7 separate regions of the Homo sapiens genome follow, and regions 1, 2, 3, 4, 6 and 7 are each linked to region 5. The links are contacts of gene promoters, found by promoter capture Hi-C in blood cells and fetal thymus (Javierre and others, 2016). All regions are on one chromosome and are shown on one strand. The core of a region is centred on a gene start or on the middle of the fragment in contact, and the rest is flanking DNA. Distances in the headings are between cores, read along the strand shown. Region 1 overlaps TOP1 (DNA topoisomerase I). Region 2 has its middle 91 kb from the start of TOP1. Region 3 overlaps LOC100128988 (a long non-coding RNA gene). Region 4 overlaps TOP1 (DNA topoisomerase I). Region 5 holds the start of LPIN3 (lipin 3). Region 6 holds the start of LOC100128988 (a long non-coding RNA gene). Region 7 overlaps LOC100128988 (a long non-coding RNA gene).

Region 1 (3,174 bases), core at 36-2,535, 260 kb after region 5:
AATACAAAGAAGGAATATGTCATTTCGTTGAAAAGAAGCTAACAGAAATAAGGATAACCACGTACATATCATGAAGATGTTCTGTGAGCACTTTTTCTCACTTCAATCCTGTGAAGTAGATAGTATTTGTCCTCATTGTACAGGTGAATGGGCAATATCAGGATTTGGGATCAAGACTCTTTATTCTAAGTCAGAATTCTTTCTCACTATTTCTTAGCTATCTTTGCCAGCATGGCACGAACCACTCCAGAAATAAACCTAAGGTGTTTTCTTGCCTTACATGGAAACCTACCATATATTTGACCCCACAATCTGAACTGATTGTTCCAGTACTCTAAAAGCTAAAGTACAGCTTTTACAAGGAAAGGAATAAACATTGATTTCCCCAACTTAGTACCTTAAAGTTCTAAAAATGTGGCAATAACGTACATGTATATCTAGCTACATGGAAAAATAACCAAGCTGACAACATTACAACAAAAGTAGGGCACGTGTTAAACCAGAATAAACAGAAGGTATCCTATGCCAAATCTATTCATTGTTCAACGTCCTAACTTAGGTTTACTTTATATACAGAAGAGTGTCTCACTACTATTTGTTAAGATCTTACCTTCAAAATATAAATATAAAAAGACAATCCTTTGAGACAAACATCTTGAACCAAAACAGAGAAGGAACAAGTAAAAAACACCATAGAGCCCAGCAATCACTGCAGCCATGGGATGCTCCCTGGCCTGGCACATCTCTTCAGAACCTCACTGCCTTAACTTAGTACAAGAAATGGCCTCCTTACATGCAGCTGCCCCCTGTGGAGGGATCCAAGGATTAAGAATCCCGACCCCACTGCAAAGTATATTCACAGGGTTTCAAGAGTACCTCCGACCAAAAAAAGCATACTGGGTCCCCTTGCTTGTGATAGAATTTGAATGTTTAAAGAACTTATTTTAGCACCCTAACCAAATGCCAGCTTCTACAGCTGTTCCCCCTCCTGCCTGAATACTGACACAGACCCTAGGGTCCAGAAGGAAAGAAAGCCTATCATTTACCCAACTAGTTAAGTAAATGCTAGATCCTAAGTTTGTCACACTGAAGACAAAAACTGTGGGAAGGGTTACTTAGGTCTGAAGGAAGAAGTCCTAAAACAATTTACCTGAAAACTGTATTCCAGTGAAGCATCTGGATTCTCTACAAAGACATATACACAAGCCAGCAAGGAGTCCAGCAAAGTGAACATAGAGACCACTGCCTCAAAGAAGGCTGTGTTCCTAATCTTCTAACCCAAAAAGTCTGAAAATGAATTCATGACTATGCACCAAGTCCAAAAAATTTATTCATATCAGTTTAATAAAAATCCAAGGCAGTCTCTTGGCAGAGATTAGCCCAGCAGTGCCTCCTCAGTCACTTTATCTCAGAAATCAAAATTCCTAGGGCAGCTTGCAGCTCTAATGCTTCCTGAATTGTATTATTCTGCATTCCTAGAACAATTATGAAACATGCCTGAAGAGGGCACCTGCTTTTCTCCTTGTCTAAAGGACCCCAGAGTACCAGGCACAATTGTCAAAAATTTTAACAAATGAAACTGAAAGTTCAAAGATTCAAGGAAGCAAAACTCTCAAAGTGTTTTGTCCCAGTCAATAATGCAAACACTTACAACCATTTCTAATAAATCCTTTCTGTCATTCAGTGAAGTGAGAATATGTAACAATAAACATCTAGTTGTTTCGAAACTAGAGGGGACCTCTGGGCTTATTTTAGGAAATTGAGGCTGAGGAAAACAAAATTATAAAGGTAAAAACAGTATAGGAAGTAACCTCTAGATTTTGCGCATTTTCCTCTCCTTCTAGAAAAGAGATAACATAATTCTACCCAAATCTACACTCATCCCTAACATGTAGGTCAAATGATCTTTTATATATAAGCCTCCCAATATTACTAATGATGAAATCAGACTAAGTGATTTTTCAGAAAACTCCATAATCGCTACTGAATATGAAGTTTCTTTTTAGAGAAATGAAAATGTTCTGGAATTAGTGAAGAGGCTGCAATACCTTGTGAATATACTAAAAAAAAAAAAAAAAAAAAAATGGTACACTGTATACCATTAAAATACAAATTTTGTGATATGCAAGTCAAATCTCAATTTTTAAAAATCTCTCCTGTCAACCTTCTCTATTCGAAATAACCTTCTGGAAAATGTGCTGGTCAGTCTCACTATATGGCACTGTAGAAAGGCTCAGGTTGGCTTAGACCGAGTCTTCTCACTGCTGAGCTTCTGGGAACCATCAAGATGGCCAGGTCAGTGGGTTTTGGGTTAACTCAGACAACACTACAACACAGGCAGCTGGCCTGCTGTCCACCCAGAGAAAGGGAAGCCCACGCAGCAGCAAAGTCTTACCTAGAGAAGCCATTTTCCTTCTCCTTCTTTATTTTTGCATCCCCAGAGGCTCGAACCTGAAAAGTAAAACAACAGTAACTAGTACCTTGAAAGGACTAAATTTGAAGAAACCTCTTTTTGAGAATATGTAGCATCAGTTCCTGGGACATCATGATCACAAGCTGGCTCTTATGTTACCAAAACTGAACAGATGAACTAAAGGTCCTGAAATGTGTCCAAAACTCGTTTTTAACAATTCTTCTGGGTGAAACTGTCCAACTCACTGAGAAAGGTTTCCCTTAAAAATGGCAGCTTTTTACTTTTAAGTGGTGGCAGGTCTCTTTTCCCCAATAAATACATTCCACTACTCAAGAATTTGCCATTGGCAGTGCAGAGAGGAAACAAAAGCAAAAACCAAACAAACAAAACATATAAACTGGGCCAGATGTGATGGCTCATGCCTGTAATCCCAACACTTTGGGAAGATGAGGTTGGAGGACTGCTTGAGGCCAGGAGTTCGAGACTAGCCCCGCCAACACAGTGAGACCCCCATCTTTATTTAAAAAACAAACAAACAAAAAAGTAGTCTATGCCCTGTCTTCTATTACTTAGGCAAAGTATACTCATGACCCCCTCCCCTTTGACTTCCTGCTTTCTAGATTCGTCAGAAAATTTATCTTTCAAAAAAATCTTCATATATACACACAAAGGGATACACACACACATACAGATATACAGAGTATCTATGGAAGAATACAAAACATAATCAGTATAGCGGTTGCCTCTGAGAAGGATGGGAG
Region 2 (3,418 bases), core at 17-2,516, 400 kb after region 5:
ACCAAGTGAGGTGATGGGTATGGTACTTAGCTTGATTGTGGTAATCATTTCATAATGTGTATGTATATCAAACATCCAGTTATATATCTTAAAAGTATGCAATTTTAATTTGTCAATTATACCTAAATAAAGCTGAAAAAAATTAACAAGTGAAGGAGATTACTGCAGGGTAGGCCTTCTATAGGGTTCTCATGAGGAGGTGACAAACCCACTGGACTGACCTGGACCCTGACTGATGGGAGCTGGCCTTCCTGGTAGAGGAAATGGCATGAATGCATTGGACGCTGGAGGATGCAAGGGCAGCTCAGAGAAAATCAGTCTGCCCAGGCTGATAAACCTGGGTCAAAGGAACCATGAACAATGTTGGAGAAGGGCCTTGAATGCTGAGTCAAGGAGTTTAGGCCTCTCCCATTGGTTACCATTTCCGGGGATCATTGCTTCTGTTTTCTTACCTCTCCCATCTTGAAGATCAGCTTCAGGGTGGAGAAGGCCTGGGGGACAATTTCTCTTATTGATGTCACTCAGTTCTCCATTCAAGCCAGGGACAGAGAAGAAGCCCAACTCCAGCTGGACTCCCGAGAACATATGGGCCTTGGAAATCATAATAAGAGGAAGCCATCTTCTTCATTAATTGATTAATGTAATTAAAGAAAGATAAGTATGTCGATGCCGACCACATTAGAGTTAATTTGTACGGGCAATTAGCTGCGCTCCCTCCTTCATCTAACTGCCTCAGACATGCTTGTGCACAGCCACCCTGGGGGTCATTAGTTGGTGCTTGGTGGCCCCTGTGAACCTTTTTCTGGGCACCCTAGTGCCTAAAAAGAGCGTGTGAGCCCCCAGATGTGGATGAGATACAAGGTTCGTGGCCTTGGGAGAAGTCTCCTAACCTCTCTGATTCTCAGTTTTCTTGTCTGTGCAATGCAGATGATTACGGTGATCTCATAAAGGAGTTGTGAGCACTCAGTGAGGAGATGTATATGCCAGAGCCTTGTAGGGACCAGCACATCTCCCTCCTTCCAAGGCTATCTCCCTTTTCAGCTCTGGTGACCAGCCCTTGGCACACACTGCTCTGGGTCCTTGCCCTGAGATGTTCCTGTAAGACCTCTGGGGACTTCGTGGGTCTGGCTGTCACCCTACTTTGCCCCTAGCCTGATGCCGTCTCCATTCTCACGTACTCTCCTGGGGCTTCTCTGAGAGCTCCTGCATCTCTATCTTTCTCTTCCACCACCCCCACTCCTCCTGGGCCAACATACTCTTGCCAGGGAAGCCCTAGATCCCTCTCTGCACCACATCTCTCCTTGGTCATCCAGATCCCAGGATCCAGCTCCCTGTGGAATGTCCCAACGGGATGTGGCAGCTCTAAAGCTGATGGCTTCATTTCTCCTGTCCCAACACCTCAAATCAAATCCCTTTCTAGGACTCCCAGAGCTTGTCATCCTCCCTGCCCTGTGAATCCAGCAGGTCCCAACACAGCCACCTGGGGGCTCCCTCTCTGCTCACTGCTTCTTGCCCTAACCCCACCCCAGTGAAGGACTCCCTTTCTGTTCCTCCCCCTTGTTCCCATCCTCCATGTCTTGGCTCACGGTTTTCCCTGCATGAGTTCCCTCTCCCCGCCTCGCCCCCTTTATTTTTGAGATGAAGTTTTGTTCTGTTGCCCAGGCTGGAGTGTAGTGGTGCTGTCTTGGCTCACTGCAAACTCCGCCTCCCAGGTTCAAGTAATTCTCCCGCCTCAGCCTCCCGAGTAGCTGGCACTACAGGCAAGCGCCACCACACCCGGCTAATTTTTATTTTTTGTATTTTTTAGTAGAGACAGAGTTTTACCATGTTGGCCAGGCTGGTCTCAAACTCCTGACCTCAATCAATCTGACCGCCTCGGCTTCCCAAAGTGTTGGGATTACAGATGTGAGCCACTGTGCCTGGCCCCTTCTTCCTTTTCTTGAACCATGATCTCTCTTTTCAGCCACAGGCTCAGATTCACAACCACATTCTGTACATTTTCAATGGGACATCAAATTTCACATCTCAAAAACTCTGTTCTTGACCTCTCTGCCATGTGCTAAGGCACCCTAACCGTGTCCTCTTTTGAACATTCCCGTCAGGAAACTGCCCCTCCATCCAACAGTTGACTCAAGCCAGAAGCCTGGAGGTTATCCCTGACATTTCTCCCCCTCTCACCTCCATATCCAGTTCATCAACAAGTCCTATTAATTTTTTTATAGCATTATGGAGGTACAATTGACATACAATAAAATACACGTATTTGAAATGCACAACTGGAAAAGTTTTCACATGCCTATGCCCCTGGGAGAGCATCACCACACAGAAGATAATAAATAAACATATCCATCCCTTCCCAATGTTTCCTTATGATCCTTTGATATTCTCCCTCCTGCCCCTCCCACCTCTCCCGTGTATTTCATCCTTAGTGAACCACCACTCTGCTTTCTGTCACTACAGATTAGTTTGCTTTTTCTAGAATTTTATATAAATGAAATTATACAGTATGCATTTTTGGCCTGACTTTTAAACTCATTATAATTACTTTGAGACTCATCTATATTGTTACATGTGTCAGTAGTTCATTCCTTTTAATTGCTGGGTAGTATCCCACTGTATGGGTATACCGCTTCTTGTTGATTCTTTCACCTGTTGATGGCATTTGTATTTTTTCCAGCTTTTGGCTATTACAACCAATGTTGCTGTGGAAATATGTGTACAAGTCTTTGTGGGGGACAGAATACTTCATTTTATCTCATTGTGATTTTAATTTGCATTTCCCTAAGGAGTGATGATGTCGAACCTTGTTTTCATGTGGTTATTTGCCATCCCAATATCTTCTTTGGGGAAGTGTCTATTCACAATTTTTGCCTATTTTAAAAAATATTGGGCTGTTTTGCTTATTATTGAGTTTTGATAGTTTTGTATATTTGGAATATAAATTCTTTATCATATATGTCATTTACAAACACTTTTTCCCATCCTATGGCTTTCCTTTTCATTCTCTTAACAGTGTCTTCTTTGAAAGAATAATAGTTCTTAATTTTAATGAGGTCCAACTTATCACTTGTTTTTCTTATTCGATGTCATATACAAGAAATCTTTGCCTCACTCAAACTTACAAGGATTTTCTCCTATATTTCTTCTGAAGAGTTATAGTTTTAGGCTTTACATTAGGTCTATGCTCTTTTATTTTTGGTTAACAGCTTCATTGAGATAAAATTTATGTACCATACATTTATGTACCATACAGTTCACCCATTTAAAGCATACCATTTAGTGGTTTTTGGTATATTCATGCAGTTGTACAATCATCACTCTCTAATTCCAGAACATTCTCATCGCCCCCGATGAAATGCCATCACAAGCAATAGACACTGGGGACCACTCGAGTAGAGAGGAGATGTGGCCTGAAAAA
Region 3 (3,413 bases), core at 849-3,348, 340 kb after region 5:
TGCTGATTTCCTTTCCTTTCCTTTCCTTTATTTTATTTTATTTTCAAGACAGGGTCTCACTCTGTTGTCCAGGCTGGAGTGCAGTGGTGCCATCTCGGCTCACTGCAACCTCTGCCTCCCAGGTTCAAGTGATTCTCCTGTCTCGGCCTTCCAAATAGCTGGGACTACAGGCACGTGCCACCACACCCAGCTAATCTTTTGTATTTGTAGTAGAGACAAGGTTTTACCATGTTGGCCAGGCTGGTCTCAAACTCCTGGCCTCAAGATCCACCTGTCACGGCCTCCCAAAGTGCTGGGATTACAGGCATGAGCCACTGGGCCCAGCCTATTTCTTTTAGATGTATACCTAGTAGTTGGATTCCTGGATCATATGGTAGTTCCATTTTTAATTTTGGGGGGAACCTCCATACTGTTTTCTACAACAGCTGTACTAATTTACAGTTCCACCAACAGCGTGTAAGGGTTCCCTTTTGTCTGCATCCTCGCCAACACTCGTCTTTTGTCTTTTTGATAATAATGGTTCTAACTGGAGTGAGATGATATCTGTTTATGGATTTGATTTGCATTTCCCTGATGACTAGTGATGTTGAGCATTCTTTCAAATATCTGTTGGCCATTTGTAACTCTTATTTTGAGAAATGTCTATTCAGGTCTTTTTTCCACTTTAAAATTGGACTATTTGGTTTGTTTTTTGTTTTTGTTTTTGTTTATTGCTATTGAGTTGTCTGAGTTACTTATATATTCTGGATATTAACCAGATGTATAGTTTGCAAATATTTTCTCCCACTCTGTGTGTTATCTCTTCATGCGTTGTTTTTTTGTGCAGAAGCTTTTCAGTTTGATGTAATTCCATTTGTCTATGTTTGCTTTTGATGCCTGTACTTTATTTTTGAGACAGAGTCTTGTTCTGTCGTCCAGGCTGGAGTGCAGTGGTGTGCTCTCAGCTCACTGCAACCGCCACCTTCCGAGTTCGAGCGATTTTCCTGCCTCAACCTTCTGAGAGTAGCTGGGACTACAAGTGTATGTCACTACCACCAGCTAGTTTTTGTATTTTTAGCAAAGACAGGTTTTCGCCATGTTGGCCAGGCTGGTCTCGAACTCCGGACCTCACGTGATCCGCCCACCTTGGCCTCCCAAAGTTCTGGGATTACAGGCATGAGCCACTGCACCCAGCCTATGCCTGTGCTTTTGAGGGCTTATCTAAAAAACCCTTGTCCAAAACAATGTCAAAAAATGTGTCCCCATGTTTTCTTCTAGTAGAGTTTCATAGTTTTGGATCTTAGATCTAAGTGTTTAATCCATTTTGAGTTGATTTTTGTATATGGTGAAAGGTAGGGGTCTAGTTTAATTTTTTTGCATATAAATACCCAATTTTCCTGGCACCATGTATTGATGACACTGTCCTTTCCCCCGATGTGTGTTGTTTGCACCTTTGTTGAAAAATGAGTTGGCTGTAGTTGTAGGGATTTATTTCTGTTCTCTCTATTCTGTTTCATTGGTCTATACATCTGTTTCTAAGTAGTTTGAAGTACTAGCCAATGTATTTCTTTTTTTGTATAATGCCTTTTATCTTATCACATTTCTCTGGTTCCTTTGGCCTTGGAGGTGGTTTTTATAGCAGAAGTGCAGAAAGTATGAAAATAAGCAAATATTAGCTTTTTCTCCTCTTTAGTATGGGAAATTTTAAGCATTTACAAAAGTAAAGAGAATAATGTAATGAACCCTTACATACTCATCACCCAACTTAAAGTGATCAACTTATGGGTAAACTTTTTTTTTGAGACGGAGTCTTGCTCTGTCGCCCAGGCTGGAGTGCAGTGGTGCGATCTCAGCTCACTGCAAACTCCGCCTCCCGGGTTCATGCCATTCTCCTGCCTCAGTCTCCTGAGTAGCTGGGACTACAGGCGCCCCCCCACCATGCCCAGCTAATTTTTTTTTTTTTTGTATTTTTAGTAGAGACGGGGTTTCACCATGTTAGCCAGGATGGTCTCGATCTCATGACCTCATGATCCACCTGCCTCGGCCTCCCAAAGTGCTGGGATTACAGGTGTAAGCCACCGCGCCCGGCCAGATAAACTTCTTTAATTATATGCCCATCTACTCTCTCCTTTATGGAATAATTTCTGTGCAGATCTCAAACATCATATCATTTCATCAGTAAACATTTCTCCATGTCGCTCTAAAAAAGGAACTTTAAACATGTAGCCACAATTATTATTATTACACCAAAAAAAACCAACAACAATTCTTAATATAATCCAATATCCAGTCCATGTTTAAATATACTGAATTGGCCAGGCACGGTGGCTCATGCCTGTAATCCCAGCACTTTGGGAAGCCGAGACGGGAGGATCACTTAAGGTCGGAAGTTCAAGACCAGTCTGGCCAATATGGCGAAACCCTGTCTCTACTAAAAATACAGAAATTAGCCGGGCATGGCGGCATGCACCCGTGGTCTCAGCTACACGGGAGGCAGAGGTTGCAGTGAGCCGAGATGGTGCCACTGCACTCCAGCCTGGGCAACAGAACTACACTCTGTCTCAAAAAAAAAAAAAAAATATATATATATATATATATATGTCTATGTGTGTGTGTGTGTGTGTGTATACCCAATTGTTGCATGTAATGTGTTTATTTGAAACAAGATCCAAACAAGGTCCACACAATCCACTGATTGGTAATAATTAAGTCTCTTTTACCCTTTAGGCTCTCCCTTTCTCTCTTTTTTAAGTGTGGAAGGTGGAATAAGCAGGATTGGAGAGATTTTCCCTTGCTCTGTCTTCAGTTCGTTTATTGAAGAAATAAGAGGCTGGGCAGGGTGGCTCATGCTTGTAATCTCAGCATTTTAGGAGGCTGAGGCTGGTGGATCACTTGAGGTCAGGAGTTCAAGACCAGACTGGTCAACATGGTGAAAACCCGTTGCTACCAAAAAACAAACAAACAAATAAAAACACCACCACAACCAACACCCCCCCCCCCAAACAACAAACAAAAGCAACAACAAAATTAGCCAGGTGTGGTGGCACATGCCTGTAGTCCTAGCTACTTGGGAGGCTGAGGCAGGAGAATCACTTGAACCTGGGAGGTGGAGGTTGTAGTGAGCGGAGATTGCACCACTGCACTCCAGCCTAGGCCACAGAGTGAGACCCTGTCTCAAAAAAAAAAAAAAAAAAAAAAAAAAAATATATATATATATATATATATATATGGCATTTATCTTGTAGAGTCTTCTATCTTCTGGTTTGTGGATTGCATCCCTGTGGTGTCATCTAACACATGAGTCCCCAATCCTTTGTACTGGTCCTCGGCCTGATTCCTAACAGGCCACACAGCAGGAGGTGAGTGGTGGGCCACTGAGCGAAGCTTCATTTGTATTTACAGCTGCTCCCCATCGCTCGAATTACCACCTGAGC
Region 4 (3,316 bases), core at 74-2,573, 280 kb after region 5:
GTTGATACTGTTCAAGTCTTCCATATCCTTAATTATTTTCTATTTGGACTAAAAATTATTGAGAAAGATAGTAAAATCTCTGACCATAATTATGAATGTTTATTTCTCTTTGCAGCTCTATCAGATTTACTTCATGTATTTTGAGGCTGTGACGTTAGTGGATAAACATTTATAACTGCTATGTTCTCCTAATGGGTCCCTTTTATCATTATGCAATGAACTTCTTTATCCTTGGCAATATTCTTTGCTGTACGGTAGATATTAACATAAGCTAGACAACTATAAACTAGAAAAGATGTAGAGTAGATTCAACTACTGAGATTAAATTTACCAGAATAATGAAAATGGAAACTAGATGATCAAGTGATAAGAGATAAGTGAGGGATAGGGAAAAAAGGCCACAGGCATGATACATGATTCCCAAAGAAATGTCCCCAATAGAGAAAATTAAATCTGGTTATTTTAATGATTCGCGAAAAAGAACAGACTTAGAAAGCAATTCTCACTTTAACTTGTCTACAGACAATCAGACAAGTTAATAAAGAAGTTCTAAGAACTCTACAATGGAGACACTTGTTCTAATGTGTGACAGATCTTTACATTCCCTAACCTAGCTCAGGCCACTATGGGAATGGGAATACCATATGGCTTTCTCACCAACAACTGTCTTTAAATCAGAATGGAAGTACAAGTCCTCATTTTCAATAACTAGATTTAACCACTTGCCTCCTACACCAAAAAAATGGGAGCAAAATGAACAAAAGAAACATCTTCTTGAGGCTTGCATCCCAAAAGGCAGCACTATTGAGTTTCATTCATATTGGTGATTGTAGGCTTTTGTGGGAGCCGAACTCCTCTGATAACATGATGAAAGCTACAAATAGTCTCTCCAGGAAATCTCATATACTCAACCATTTGCATATAATTTCAGGGGCTAACAGACCATGGAAGCCCAAGTTAAGAATTTTTAATGTAAACTCTTTAAAATATAGAAAGAAGAAAAAAAATCAGGTCTCCAATCCAGTTACCTTTTATCAAGGCAAGCTTGCTACAGACTTGATTAAATGCCATCATGTGTCACAATGAATCCTTACCTATCTTAGTGAACAACTGTATTTTTAATGAGGTATATATTAAAAGAAAATTAAACATACTTGCTTTATACATCTTGATCTGAACAATGGCATCCCATTTAAGGCCTAAATCATGGCCATCCTCATAGCAACTCTAGGATCAAATACAGTTTCTACTTACTTTGCTATCTTTACATGTAGCTCAAGTTAAGACCTATTCCAGGTAAGCCAAGCAATGGCCAACCCACTGCTGAATGATGAGGGACTTGCTTGATTCCACCCTTACCTGTTGCTATGCTTGGACTTTTCCCGGTCCTTCTCCTTCTTGTGTTCTTTGTGCCGGTGTTCTCGATCTTTGTGTTTATCTTTGTGTTTATGAGAATCTGCAACCATAAGAGATGAGTCAGTTAACAGGAGTCATGAGCTATCTTCTGTATGCCTACCTTGACAAGCTGGTCAAGAAGTACAATGACAGGATTCAAATGGCATGGTAGGCATAATAGCACATGCCACTGAAAAAAAAAGCTTTCACAAAGAAGCCCAGACAAAGCTCCCATTAGCCTGCTTCTACAATCAAGACAAGTTACTAATATGGGGAGGATAAGGAAATGAGAGCCAATTATTCTGTGGAAAGAAGCCACAGTTTGGCGTTTTTCTCCCTAGACATAATACTATTAAGCCTGACCTATAAATGATAACAAAGGGATAGTATTGAACACTGACTCTAAAGATCAGATGTTATAACTTCTGAAAAATCCAAACCTCAACAGATGTTTTTAAATGAATGTTAATAAGGTGTAATGTCTAAACAATAAAATACAATCAGCCCTCCATATCTACAGGTTCAGCACCATAGATTCAACCATTTGCAGACTGAAAATATTCAAGGAAAAATAAAAATAGTAATAACAATACAACCAAAAAAATACAAATCCCCCCACAATATAACAACTATTTATATAGTTACACTGTATTAGGTAATCTAAGTAATGTGGTGGTGAGTTAAAGTATATATAAGGATTGTGTAGGTTATATGCAAATACTGTGCCATTTTATATACAAAAAAACTTGAACATCTGCAAATTTTGGTATACTAGGGACAGGGGGTGGGGTGGTCCTGGAACCAATCCCCTACAAATATTAAGAAATAACTGTAATAATAAACATTTCAAAGACACCCACAGGTGCAATCCCCACTACAATAAAGATTTAGAACAAGTCCATCATCTCAGAAAGTTTCCCTCGTGCTCCTTCCCAGTCATTCCCCATCTTCCACCCCTTGCCCAAAGGAAGCACTGATCTGATCGTGCTGTATATTAGATTTGTCTAGATTTCTAGATTTCATGTAAATAACATCATATAGGATTTATTCTTTTTGTGTCTGATGTCTTTCTCTCAGCATAACATTTGTGACATTCATCCACATTGTTGGATATATCAGTTGTTGGTTCCATTTTATTGCTGAGTGGTGTTACATTGTGTGGATATACTGTAACTTACCCATTCACCTGCTGGACAATTTAGTTGTTTCCAGGCATTGGTTATTATTTATCTGCTACAAACATTCATATACAAATATTTCTATAGACATGTTTTCATTTCTCTTGGGTACATACTTAGGAGAAAAGTTACTGGGTAATATAAAAAATGTATGTTTAACTTTACAGGAAATTGCCAAATTGTACCATTGTATATCTCCATCAAAAATTCATTAGCATTCCAATTGCTACAAATTTTCACCAATATCTGCTATCAGTCTTTAATTTTAGCCATTCTAGCACGTGTGGAGTGGTACCTCACTGTGGTTTCAATTCACATATTTCTGATGATTAAATGATGTTTAATGACAAGCATCTTTTGGTGTGCTTGTTGGCCTCTCATATACCTTCTTTGGTGAAGTATCTGCTCAAATCTTTCTTGGTCTTCTTACTACCTAGTTGTAAGAGCTCTTTATACATTCTGGATTACCAATTTTTTGTTAGCTATACGAACTGTGAATATTTTCTCCCCATCATTTTCTTGTTTTTATTTCTTAATGGTGTCTTTCAAAGAGCAAAAGTTTTAAATTTTGATCAAGTCCACTTCATCAATTTTCTCTTTTAGGGTCTGTATGTTTTGTGCCCCAAGATATCGTTGCCTACTCAAGGGCTACACAGATTTTCTCTCTCTCTCTTTTGCAGGGAAAGGCAGGGAAAGAGTCTCATTTTCTTATATCACGATGTTACGCAGGCTCCTCTCGAACT
Region 5 (3,401 bases), core at 539-3,038:
CCCTTAGGCACCCCCTTTTCCCAGGACCCAGCTCTACCTCCTTGTTCTTTTCCAGACAGAGGAGAGCTCTGCTTGGCTCCCCTCTATCACCCTCCACCCACAAACTAACATGTCTAAAATCAGCCACTTCACTCCTCACACCTTCCCAGGAAGCCGAATACCCCTTAGGACTAGTCACTACCCCTCTCTCCCTCCCTAGCCCTCTGAATCTTCTCCCCCAATTTCCTGCTCATCCAGCCCCTCCTTTCTCCAGCTGTCCTAGGTTAAGACTTTATAACCAGATGCCCAGATCACGGGTGGCCACAGGACATTAGGAGAAAAGGCACCAGATTATCTGGGTGCTGATCCCCACTCCGCCATTTGCTAGCTGTGACCATGGGCAAGTGACTTCATCTCTCTGACCCTCAGTCTCAGCCTCCAAAATGGGAATAACATCAGGCACGTGTGAGTAACTAATGACTTTGTGTAAAGCCCTGGAATGCAATAAAAACCTGTATGTACACCTATCAGCAGCAGCATCATGACAGCCCCACTCATGCAGGCTGGTCCTGTGGGCACTGCAGGTCATACTCTGATGAACTGCCCCTGCCAGCAGTTGAGAGTTTGGACTTCTTTTATTTATTTATTTTTTTGAGATGGAGTCTTGCCCTGTCACCCAGACTGGAGTGCGGTGGCATGATTTTGGCTCACTGCAAGCTCCGCCTGCTGGGTTCAAGCAATTCTCCTGCCTCAGCCTCCCGAGTAGCTGGGACTACAGGCGTGTGCCACCACACCCGGCTAATTTTTTGTATTTTTAGTGGAGACGGGGTTTCACCGTGTTAGGATGGTCTCGATCTCCTGACCTCATGATCCACCCGCCTCAGTCTCCAAAGTGCTGGGATTACAGGCGTGAGCCACCGCGCCCAGCGGAGTTTGGACTTCTTAACTTGGCACTCAAGGCCATGCACAATGGTGGCACCACTATTTGCAAAACGAGCATGTGCACTCCACGTAGGCCTCACACCCCACCTTGGGGATGTTCACAGGCCTTCCAGGCTAGACTACAACTCTAGCACAGGGAAGCCAGAGCAAGCTGCCCTAGGACTAGGCTCTCAGCCCTCGGGGCTCCCAGGTTTGGGTGGATGAAGGGTGTGGCTCTCCACCGAGGACCAGAGGGAGCAGGAGAGTAAGCACTCCTAGTGCCCCAGTAGAGAGAAAGCGCCACCCCAGCCCCCAGCAGCTACAGCATCTGATCTGCCCAGTCTCAGGGCAAGCAGGGCAAGGGCCAGTCACTGTTTTGCAACTGAGGACACTGGGTACCAGAGAAAGTGGCTGTCCTCCTCAAGGTCACACAGTCAGGCTGGGGTAAAGCTGGGCCAGCCTCCCCTGGGAGGTTTCGACGTCTCCTCTCCAGACTCTACGTTCTGGGTGTCCAGGGGGCCTGCAGCCGCTGGGCCAGGGAAAAAGGGACAAAATGAGGCCAGTCCCTCCACCCCTGCGTCCCCATCTTACAGCTAGGGGTGGACCCAGGCCCGCGGACAGGAAGGAAGGAATGTAGGATGGCAGGACAGATGGGCAGGGCGGGAGGGGAGAGGGTCATCTCTTCTCCCCCCGAGTTGGGCCCTACCTGGGGAGCTGCCCACTGGAGCTCCTGGACTCAGAGCCGCCGCCTCTACCTACGTGCACAGGCTCCACAGGTGAGTGTCTTCGGCCCTCAGTCACTTGGCGCTTCCGGGTCCTCTAAGACAGGGTGAGAGCACGGCTCCACTCCTTCTACGATCCTAGTGCGGCCTCCACAGGCCCCAATCTGCCCAGGCTCCACTCCCTGGAAAGACCCCGCCCCTGCTCCGATCCCCGCCCAGGGCGCCCTTTGGCCTCGGAGGCGGGGGCGGGGCCAGACTTCATGCCCCGCCCACCAGACCCCGCCCCAAGTCCCTGTGCCACCGCCTGCCCCACCTCCAGAAAAGTGTGGATTTCGGAACGGGGCGGACCTAGCTCCTCCCAGATTTGCTTCCAGCTTGCTGTGTGATCTTGGGTGAATTCCTTCCTCAATTTGATCCCATTTCCTGTTTTGTCAAGGGGGAAAGCCGCCTTGCAGGATTTTAGAGATGACATGAAATGACTTTGCGCGGCTCCTGGCGCTCAAACGTCCCCTCCTGGGGGCAGCTTTTCCTGAACCCACCCGTATCTCCCAGACTGGACAGGCCCCTCGCGTCATCTGTTCGCATAGCCCACAGTTGTAATTTCATATTTGCTTGAATGACTACTTGATTAATGTATATCTCTTCATTTAAATTTGAACTCTGAGAGCAGGTCACGTACATCCTTACACTCCAGCGCTTATCAGTACCTCGCCTGACAAACAGCAGGCGCTCCATAAATGCCCGCACCTTCATTCCATCCCTGGGACGTTCTGGTCGAGCGGCAGCGGGCTCAATACTGACACTGGCCAGCAGGGGGCAGGCGGTGATCAGCCTTCTGGCCCAGCCGCGCTCCCTCCCTGTCTGCAGGCACTGCGGGAGGGGACAGGTGAGCCCAGGTGCGCCGAGGCACGCGGAAGGTGCATTTACTCTCGTGCCTTGGGCAAGGCCCGGGCCGGGAACGGCTTTTTCCTCTTGGATCTGTGGCTCGCGGCTTTCCTGGACCAAAGACCTTTCCGACGCCCTATGGCCCCTGCAAAGAAGCTGCCCTGAGAAGGGCCTGGAGATGAAGTAATTTGTTCTAAAAGAGAGAGGGCACCGAGGAAAGGCTTGGCGGAGCAGCAACGGCGACGAGCCAGGCTTAGAAACGACTGGGCGGTGAGGAGGAGAGGTAGCTGCCATTATTCTGACTCAGGGTGACAGAACCTGTTTGGAAGTGACTGGCCTCAGTTGTCCTCATTTTGGCAGAAGTCATTTAGTATCAGTCCTGATCCCAGGTAGTGTCTGGCTGCTATCTCAGAAGAGCCCTGTTGGGAGCAGAGCTATGTCAAGGTGGCCAGGAGGGCAGCGTCATACATACCATTTTCTGTAACATCAGGAAATCCCTGAAGGGAGCCCGAGAAGGAAGGAAGGAGAGGTCACAGGTTGGGGCTACAGATGCCGAAATCAATTTACCTCTTTGAGCCTCAATTTCATCGGCAAAGGTGGTGATAAAAGCTACCTTGCAGGATTCTATTGTGAGGATTTACAGGATGAATTAAATAAGTGGTTCTCAACCTTGACTGTGTGTTAGAATCACTGTGCCCTAGACGAATACTGATGCCCCGGATACTGGGAGTTTAAAAACCTCTCCAGTTGGTTGTAATGTACAAACAAGGCTGAGAACTGCTGATCCAAATTAAATGCAGAGCACAGCGCCAGGGCACACACTAGGCATTCAGGAATGTTTATCACATATTTATTTTTATTTAAAAAATTTTTGTGTCACACATTTTTAAAGAT
Region 6 (3,678 bases), core at 762-3,261, 360 kb after region 5:
ACCTACTTGTAAATATTTATATTTACAAGATTGAAATACTGAATAAATATTAACTGACTACAAGTCCTTTTATTTTTATATATTTTTTGAGATGAGGTCTCACTCTGTCACCCAAGCTGGAGTGCAGTGGTGCCATTACGGCTCACTGCAGCCTTGACCTCCTGGGCTCAGTTGATCTTCCCACCTCAGCCTCCTGAGTAGCTGGGACTACAGGCATGCACCAATATGCCCAGCTAATTTTTGTATTTTCTGTAGAGAAGGGGTTTCTCCATGTTGCCCAGGCTGGTCTTGAACTCCTGGGCTCAAGCAATCCACCCACCTTGGCCTCCTAAAGTGTTGGGATTACAGGCGTGAGCCACTGTGCCGGGCCCCGTTTTATTTTTAAATGGAAAATAGGGTTTCATGACCACTGTCTGGATGCTAGGGATGCAGATGGCTACTGATTTGGTCATTAGGAAATATATTTTATCACACACACACCTTTCAGCCAGAAACCAGGAGGATAGCACCCTGTGTTCATACTAATAATTCCAATTCACACTTAGGTTTTTCACTTAATCTTTTCTATATTACATCTCTCCTTTCTTCCATATTGAGAATCAGATCCTCAATAATACAGGAGATGATAGAATTAAAACAGTCTGTAATTGCTTATTTTCCTTATCCCACATTACACACGCAATGGTCTCAAAATGACAGCAGTAATAGCATCAACAAAATAATTACTGGAAACAGTTTAAAAAGTTTTTTTTTTTTTGAATATGGTCTTCCCATTATTCCTATTTTAAAAGTGGTCTTGTAGGGCAGTGGTCCCCAAGCTTTTTGGCATCAAGGACCGGTTTTGTGGAAGACAGTTTTCCACAGATTGGGGTAAGGGATGGTTTTGGGATGATTCAAGCACATTGCACTTATTATACACTTTATTTCTATTATTATTACATTGTAATAGATAATGAAATAATTATACAATTCTTCATAATGTAGAATCAGTGGGAGCCCTAGCTTGTTTTCCCGCAACTAGATGGTCCCATCTGGGGATGATGGGAGACAGTGATAGATCATCAGGCATTAGATTCTCACAAGGAGCCCGCAACTATATCCCTTGCATGCACGGTTCACAATAAGGTTCGCACTCCCATAAGAATCTAATGCTGCCACTGATATGATGGGAGGTGCAGCTCAGGCGGTAATGAGAAATGGGTAGTGGCTGTAAATACAGATGAAGCTTCACTTGCTTGTCTGCTGCTCACCTCCTGCTGTGCAGCGTGGTTCCTAACAGGCCACAGACCAGTACCAGTCCATGGCCAGGGGGTTGGGGACTGCCGTTGTAGGAGGTGGAGCAAGATGGCTGAATAGAAGGCTCCATCTCCCCATCCCCCACAGGAACATAAAATTTAACAACTATCTACACACAAAAAAGCACCTTCATCATAAGAACCAACAATTGGATGAGCACTCACAGTACCTGATTTTAACTTCATACTGTTGAAAGAGGCAATGAAGAGGGTAGGGAAGACAGTCTTGAGTTGCTGATGCCACCTGTCCCCATCCCATGGCAGTGGCTTTGTGGCGTAGAGAGAGAATCTCTGTGCTTGGAAGAGGGAGAGCGCAGCTATTGTGAGACATTGCATTGAATTTGATGCTGCTTTGTCACAGTGAAAGCAAAACCGAACTGAACTCAGCTGACAGCTGATGATGGAGAGAGTATTTAGACCAGCCCTAGCCAGAGGGTAATTGCCCAAGGGAATTGCCCAACCCAGTGGATGGAACTTGAGTTTCAGCAAGCCTTACCACCATGGGGGTAAAATGCTCTGGGTTGTAAATAAACTTGAATGGCAGTCAAGGTCACAAGGACTGCAGTTCCTAGGCAAGTCCTAGTGCTGAGCTGGGCTCAGAGTCAGTGGACATGGTGGGGGCACATGACCTACTGAGACACTAGCTGAGGCAGCTAAGGGAGTACTTGCACCACCCTCCCCCCAACTCCAGGTAGCACAGCTTGCAGCTGTGCAAGCTCCTTCCACTTGAGGAGAGGAGAGGGAAGAGTAAAGAGGACTTTGTCTTGCATCTTGGATGCCAGCTCAGCCACAGTAGGATAGGGTACCAGTTAGGGTCATAAGGTCCCCATTCCAGGGCCTAGCTCCTGGATGATATTTCTAGACACACCCTAGGCTAGGAGGGAGCCTACTGCTTTGAAGGGAAGGACTCAGTCCTGGCAGGATTCATTACCTGCTGATTAAAGAGTCCTGGGACCTTGAAGAACCAGCAGCGATACCCTGGTATCTACCATAGGCCTTGGTTGAGACTCTGAGACATGTTGGCTTCAGGTGAGACCCAGCACATTTCCAGCTGTGGTGGCTATGGTGAGAACCATAGTGAGAACACTTGCTTGAGTAAAGCAGAGGAAAAAGTAAAGGGGACTTTGTCTTATACCTTAGATACTAGCTCAGCCACAGTAGACTAGACCATAAAGAGGGTTCTTGGGGTCCCTGGTTTCAGGCCTTGCCTTTTAGATGCCATTTCTGGACCTGCTCTGGGTGGGAAGGAAACCCACTGCCCTGAAGGATGAGTCCCAGGCCTGGCAACATTCACTACAAGCCGACTGAAGAGCCCTTGGGTCTTCAGTGAACGTTGGTGGTAGACTGGCAGTAGTCCTATGGGCCTGTCGTGGTGATGGCCACAGGTTGAGGCCCCTCTGCTTATGGAAGTGGGAGGGAAGTGTGGGAAGGATTATGTCTCGTGGTTTGAGTGCCAGCTCAGCTGCAGTAGAATAGAACAGCAGGTAGATTTCTAAGCTTTTTGACTCCAGTCTCTGGCTCCCAGACAGTATCTCTGCACCTGCTTGGGGCCTGGGGGAACTGGGTGCCTTGAAGGGACGGACATAAGCCTGGCTGGCTTTGCCACCTCCTGATTGTAGAACCCTAGGGCCTTGAGCAAACATAGGCAGTAGCCAGGTGGCAGTTACAGCAGGCCTTGGGCAAGACCTAATGCTGCACTGGCTTCAGGTCTGACCCAGCGCAGTCCCAGTGATGGTGACCACAGGTGTGCTTGTGTCACTTCTCCCCCAGCTCTAGGCAGCACAGCACAGAGAGAGAGAGAGAGAGAGAAAGTCTCCATTTGTTTGGAAGAAAGTAAGGGAAGAGAACAAGAATCTCTAGTAATCCAGAGAATTCTTCTGGATCTTATCCAAGGCTACCAAAGTGGTACCTCTGCAACTCTGCAAGAACCACAGCATTACTGGGCTTGGGGTGTCCCTTAATGCAGATGCATTTGCAGTGACCAAACACTTAGATCACAACACCCAAGTCCCTTTGAATACGTGGAAAGCCTTGTCCTTCCACAATACTTGTCCTTCACAGTCTGGGCTTGTTTGTACCTGTCCACAAGAAAGGCAAGTACAAACAAACCCAGACTGTGAAGAGTACAACAGATACCTAACTGTTAAATGCACAGTCACTGACAAACATCCACAAGCATCAAGACCATCCGGGAAAACATGGCATCACCAAACAAACTAAATAAGCCCGTGGGGACCAATCCTGGAGAGACAGAGATATGTGATCTTTCAGATAGATAATTCAAAATAGCTATTTTGAGGAAACTCAAAGAAATGTAAGAAAAACCAGAGAAGGAATTCATAATTCTATCAGACAAATTTAACAAACAGATTGAAATAATTAA
Region 7 (3,161 bases), core at 239-2,738, 330 kb after region 5:
AAATCAACCCTCTATCTTTCCTCTCAAGCCTGTTCCTCCTTTGGTCTTCCCCAATCATAGTTAATGGCTCAGGTCATCCTTGACTATTTTTTTTTTTTTTTTGAGACAGAGTCTCACTCTGTTGCCCAGGCTGGAGCGCAGTGGCAACATCTCGGCTCACTGCAACCTCCGCCTCCCAGGTTCAAGCAATTCTTCTGTCTCAGCCTCCTGAGTAGCTGGGACTACAGTTGCACACCACCATGCCCAGCTAATTTTTGTATTTTTAGTAGAGACAGGGTTTCACCATATTGGTCAGGCTTGTCTCGAACTCCTGACCTGTCGATCTGCCCACCTCAGCCTCCCAAGGTGCTGGGATTACAGGCGTGAGCCACCACGCCCCGCATCCTTGACTCTGTTTTGCCTGCCTACTCCCCCTTATCCAATTTGTCAACAAATCCTGTTGACTTCACCTTCAAATATCCTGATGTTAACCATTTCTCACCATGCCCTTTGCTTTCACTTTAGCCCAAATTGCCATCATCTCCACCTGGTTTAATGTGGGAGTCTCCTAACTGGTGTCCTCTGCTCTATGTTTGTCATCTCATGGTATATAGTCAGAACAAGTGATCCTTTAAAACAGAGTGGTCCTATTTAAGACTTGAGATCCTGGCCAGGCATGGTGGCTCACGCCTGTAATCTCAGCACGTTCAGAGGCCAAGGTAGGAGGATGACTTAGAGCCAGGAGTTCAAGATCATCCTGGGCAACAGTGAGATACTATTTCAACGAACATTTTTAAAAATTTAGCTGGGCCTGGTGGCACATGCTTCTAGTCCCAGTTATTCAGGAGGCTGAGGCAGAAGGATCTCAAGCCCAGTAGTTTGAGGCTGCAGTGAGCTATGATCATACCACTGCACTCCAGCCTGGGTGACAGAGGAGACCTTGTCAGTTAAAAAAAAAGAAAAGAAAAGAAAAGAAAAGAAAAAGGGCTGGGCACAGTGGCTCACACCTGTAATCCCAGCACTTTGGGAGGCTGAGGTGGGCAGGTCACCTGAGGTCAGGAATTCGAGACCAGCCTGGCCAACATGGTGAAACCCCATCTCCACTAAATACACAAAAAATTTAGCCAGGCGTGGTGGCGGGCGCCTGTAGTCCCAGCTATTTGGGAGGCTGAGGCAGGGTGAATTGCTTAAACCTAGGAGGCTGAGGCTGCAGTGAGCAGAGATTGCACCACTGCACTCCAGCCTGGGCCACAGAGTGAGACTCCATCTCAAGAAAAAAAAAAAAAAGAAAGAAAGAAAGAAGAAGGTCGGGTGCGGTGGCTCATGCCTGTAATCCCAGCACTTTGGGAGGCTGAGGCGGGTGGATCACCTGAGGTCAGGAGTTCGAGACCAGCCTGACCAACATGGTGAAACCCCGTCTCTACTAAAAATACAAAATTAGCCAGGCATGGTGGCACATGTCTGTAATCTCAGCTACTTGGGAGGCTGAGGGAGGAGAATTGCTTAAACTCAGGAGGCAGAGGTTGCAGTGAGTCAAGATTGCACCATTGCACTCCAGCCTGGTCAATAGAGTGAGACTCTTTCCTGAAACAAAACAAAACAAAACAAAACAAAACAAAACAAAACAAAACAAAACGTAAGATCCTGTCACTCTTCTGCGCAAAACTCTCCAGTGGCTCCCATCTCATTCAGGGTAAAGTCAAAGACTTACAATGGCCCCAAGGCTCTGCCACACCTGCTCCCCTCCAAGGCCTCCCTTGACCTCATCTGCTGGTGCTGTACACCTTGGTCACCTCTTTCCAGCCACTCTGGGCTCTGTAAAAGCCTATCACACACCACTCATTCTCCAGCATTAGCCCTTTCATTTGTGGATCTTTCTACCTCGAACGTCCTTCCTCCAGATATCTCCATGGCCTAGTGCCTCTCTTCTTTCAGATCCTTGCTAAACTAAGACAGGCCCTGACTACTCTATTTAAAATTACAACCCCCTTCCCTCAGTTCTTCCCTCTTTCCATCCCTGCTTTATTTGTCTCCAATGCACTTGTCACCATTTGGCCTACGGAATATTTTACTTATTGTTTTCCCCGTGTAGTATGTAATCTTGATGACAGCAGCAATTCTTATCAGTTTATTTATTTATTTATTATTTTTGAGACAAAAATAATATTATTTTGTCACCCAGGCTGGAGTACAGCAGTACAACCATGACTCACTGCAGCCTTGACCTCCTAGACTCAAACAATCTTCCCACTTCAGCCTGCTGAGCAGCTGGGGCTACAGGTGTGCACCAACATGCTCAGCTAATTGTTTATATTTTGTAGACACAGAGTCTTCCTATGTCGCCCAGATTGGTCTCGAACTCCTGAGCTTAAAGGTGTTCTGCTTTGATATCCCAAAGTGCTAGGATTACAGGCATGAGCCACCGTGCCCGGCTTTCTCAGTTTATTTAGTGCCACATTTCTACCATCCACAGAAGTGCCTGACACACATAAGATACTCAATTAACATTTGTTGAATAAATGAATTATGGGCTGCAACGGGCTCCTAATATGTGTCAAGCAGAGGCCTGGAATGTACCAGAAAACTCCTTATAGTGAATAACATGGTTCCCATTTTTTTTTTTTTGAGATGGAGTTTCGTTCTTGTTGCCCAGGCTGGAGTGCAATGGCACAATCTTGGCTCACTGTGACCTCTGCTTCCTGGGTTCAAGTGATTCTCCTGCCCCAGCCTCCCGAGCAGCTGAGATCACAGGTGCGAGCCAACACGCCCAGCTAATTTTTTTGTGTTTTTAGTAGAGATGGGATTTCTCCATGTTGGCCAGGCTGTTCTGGAACTCCTGACCTCAGGTGATCCACACTCCTCGGCCTCCCAAAGTGCTGGGATTACAGGTGTGAGCCACCGCACCCGGCCATGATTCCCACTTTGCAGATAAGAAGATTGAGGCTTAAGGCTGAGTGTGGTAGCTCACGCCTATAATCCTAGCACTTTAGGAGGCCAAGGCGGGTGGATCACCTGAGATCAGGAGTTTGAGACCAGCCTGGCCAACATGGCGACACCTCGTCTCTATTAAAAATATAAAAATTAGCTGGACGTGGTGGTTCACACCTGTAATCCCAGCTATTTGGGAGGCTGAGGCAGGAGAATGGCTTGAACCTGGGAGGTGGAGGTTGCAGTGAGCCCAG

Evidence for each region. The method cuts DNA at HindIII sites, captures the fragments that hold promoters and counts their contacts. A CHiCAGO score of 5 or more calls a contact.
Region 1: a contact is called between a fragment that was not itself captured here and the fragment with the promoter of LPIN3 in region 5, in 3 of 17 cell types (naive CD4 T cells, activated CD4 T cells and total CD4 T cells). The highest score is 6.9, in naive CD4 T cells.
Region 2: a fragment that was not itself captured here is called in contact with the fragment with the promoter of LPIN3 in region 5 in 1 of 17 cell types (naive CD4 T cells); the score reaches 5.3 in naive CD4 T cells.
Region 3: a contact is called between a fragment that was not itself captured here and the fragment with the promoter of LPIN3 in region 5, in 1 of 17 cell types (activated CD4 T cells). The highest score is 5.6, in activated CD4 T cells.
Region 4: a contact is called between a fragment that was not itself captured here and the fragment with the promoter of LPIN3 in region 5, in 1 of 17 cell types (naive CD4 T cells). The highest score is 5.1, in naive CD4 T cells.
Region 6: a fragment that was not itself captured here is called in contact with the fragment with the promoter of LPIN3 in region 5 in 11 of 17 cell types (total CD4 T cells, naive CD8 T cells, total CD8 T cells and 8 more); the score reaches 13.6 in total CD4 T cells.
Region 7: a fragment that was not itself captured here is called in contact with the fragment with the promoter of LPIN3 in region 5 in 3 of 17 cell types (naive CD8 T cells, naive CD4 T cells and non-activated CD4 T cells); the score reaches 7.3 in naive CD8 T cells.

Annotation. Positions count from the first base shown.
Region 1 is chr20:41,076,859-41,080,032 of GRCh38, reverse strand. It overlaps TOP1 (DNA topoisomerase I), which reads right to left. Exons shown (of 21, transcript NM_003286.4): 5 at 2,396-2,451. Among named protein-coding and RNA genes, the nearest start is that of TOP1, 50 kb to the right of the region's middle. The HindIII fragment of the contact is 9,236 bases long and covers 1-3,174 here.
Region 2 is chr20:40,936,294-40,939,711 of GRCh38, reverse strand. No RefSeq gene overlaps it. Among named protein-coding and RNA genes, the nearest start is that of TOP1, 91 kb to the left of the region's middle. The HindIII fragment of the contact is 4,726 bases long and covers 1-3,418 here.
Region 3 is chr20:40,997,277-41,000,689 of GRCh38, reverse strand. All of the region lies in intron 1 of LOC100128988 (a long non-coding RNA gene), which reads right to left. All of the region lies in intron 1 of LOC105372621 (a long non-coding RNA gene), which reads left to right. Among named protein-coding and RNA genes, the nearest start is that of TOP1, 30 kb to the left of the region's middle. RefSeq lists an enhancer at 3,105-3,413. The HindIII fragment of the contact is 2,534 bases long and covers 832-3,365 here.
Region 4 is chr20:41,059,534-41,062,849 of GRCh38, reverse strand. TOP1 (DNA topoisomerase I) reads right to left here. Exons shown (of 21, transcript NM_003286.4): 3 at 1,360-1,456. Among named protein-coding and RNA genes, the nearest start is that of TOP1, 32 kb to the right of the region's middle. The HindIII fragment of the contact is 554 bases long and covers 1,047-1,600 here.
Region 5 is chr20:41,339,208-41,342,608 of GRCh38, reverse strand. It overlaps LPIN3 (lipin 3), which reads right to left and starts at 1,788. Exons shown (of 20, transcript NM_022896.3): 1 at 1,607-1,788. RefSeq lists a silencer at 1,807-1,966 and an enhancer at 2,127-2,176. The HindIII fragment of the contact is 12,951 bases long and covers 1-3,401 here.
Region 6 is chr20:40,978,709-40,982,386 of GRCh38, reverse strand. It overlaps LOC100128988 (a long non-coding RNA gene), which reads right to left and starts at 1,674. Exons shown (of 3, transcript NR_145525.1): 1 at 1,466-1,674. The HindIII fragment of the contact is 1,567 bases long and covers 1,228-2,794 here.
Region 7 is chr20:41,013,819-41,016,979 of GRCh38, reverse strand. All of the region lies in intron 2 of LOC100128988 (a long non-coding RNA gene), which reads right to left. Among named protein-coding and RNA genes, the nearest start is that of TOP1, 13 kb to the left of the region's middle. The HindIII fragment of the contact is 6,484 bases long and covers 1-3,161 here.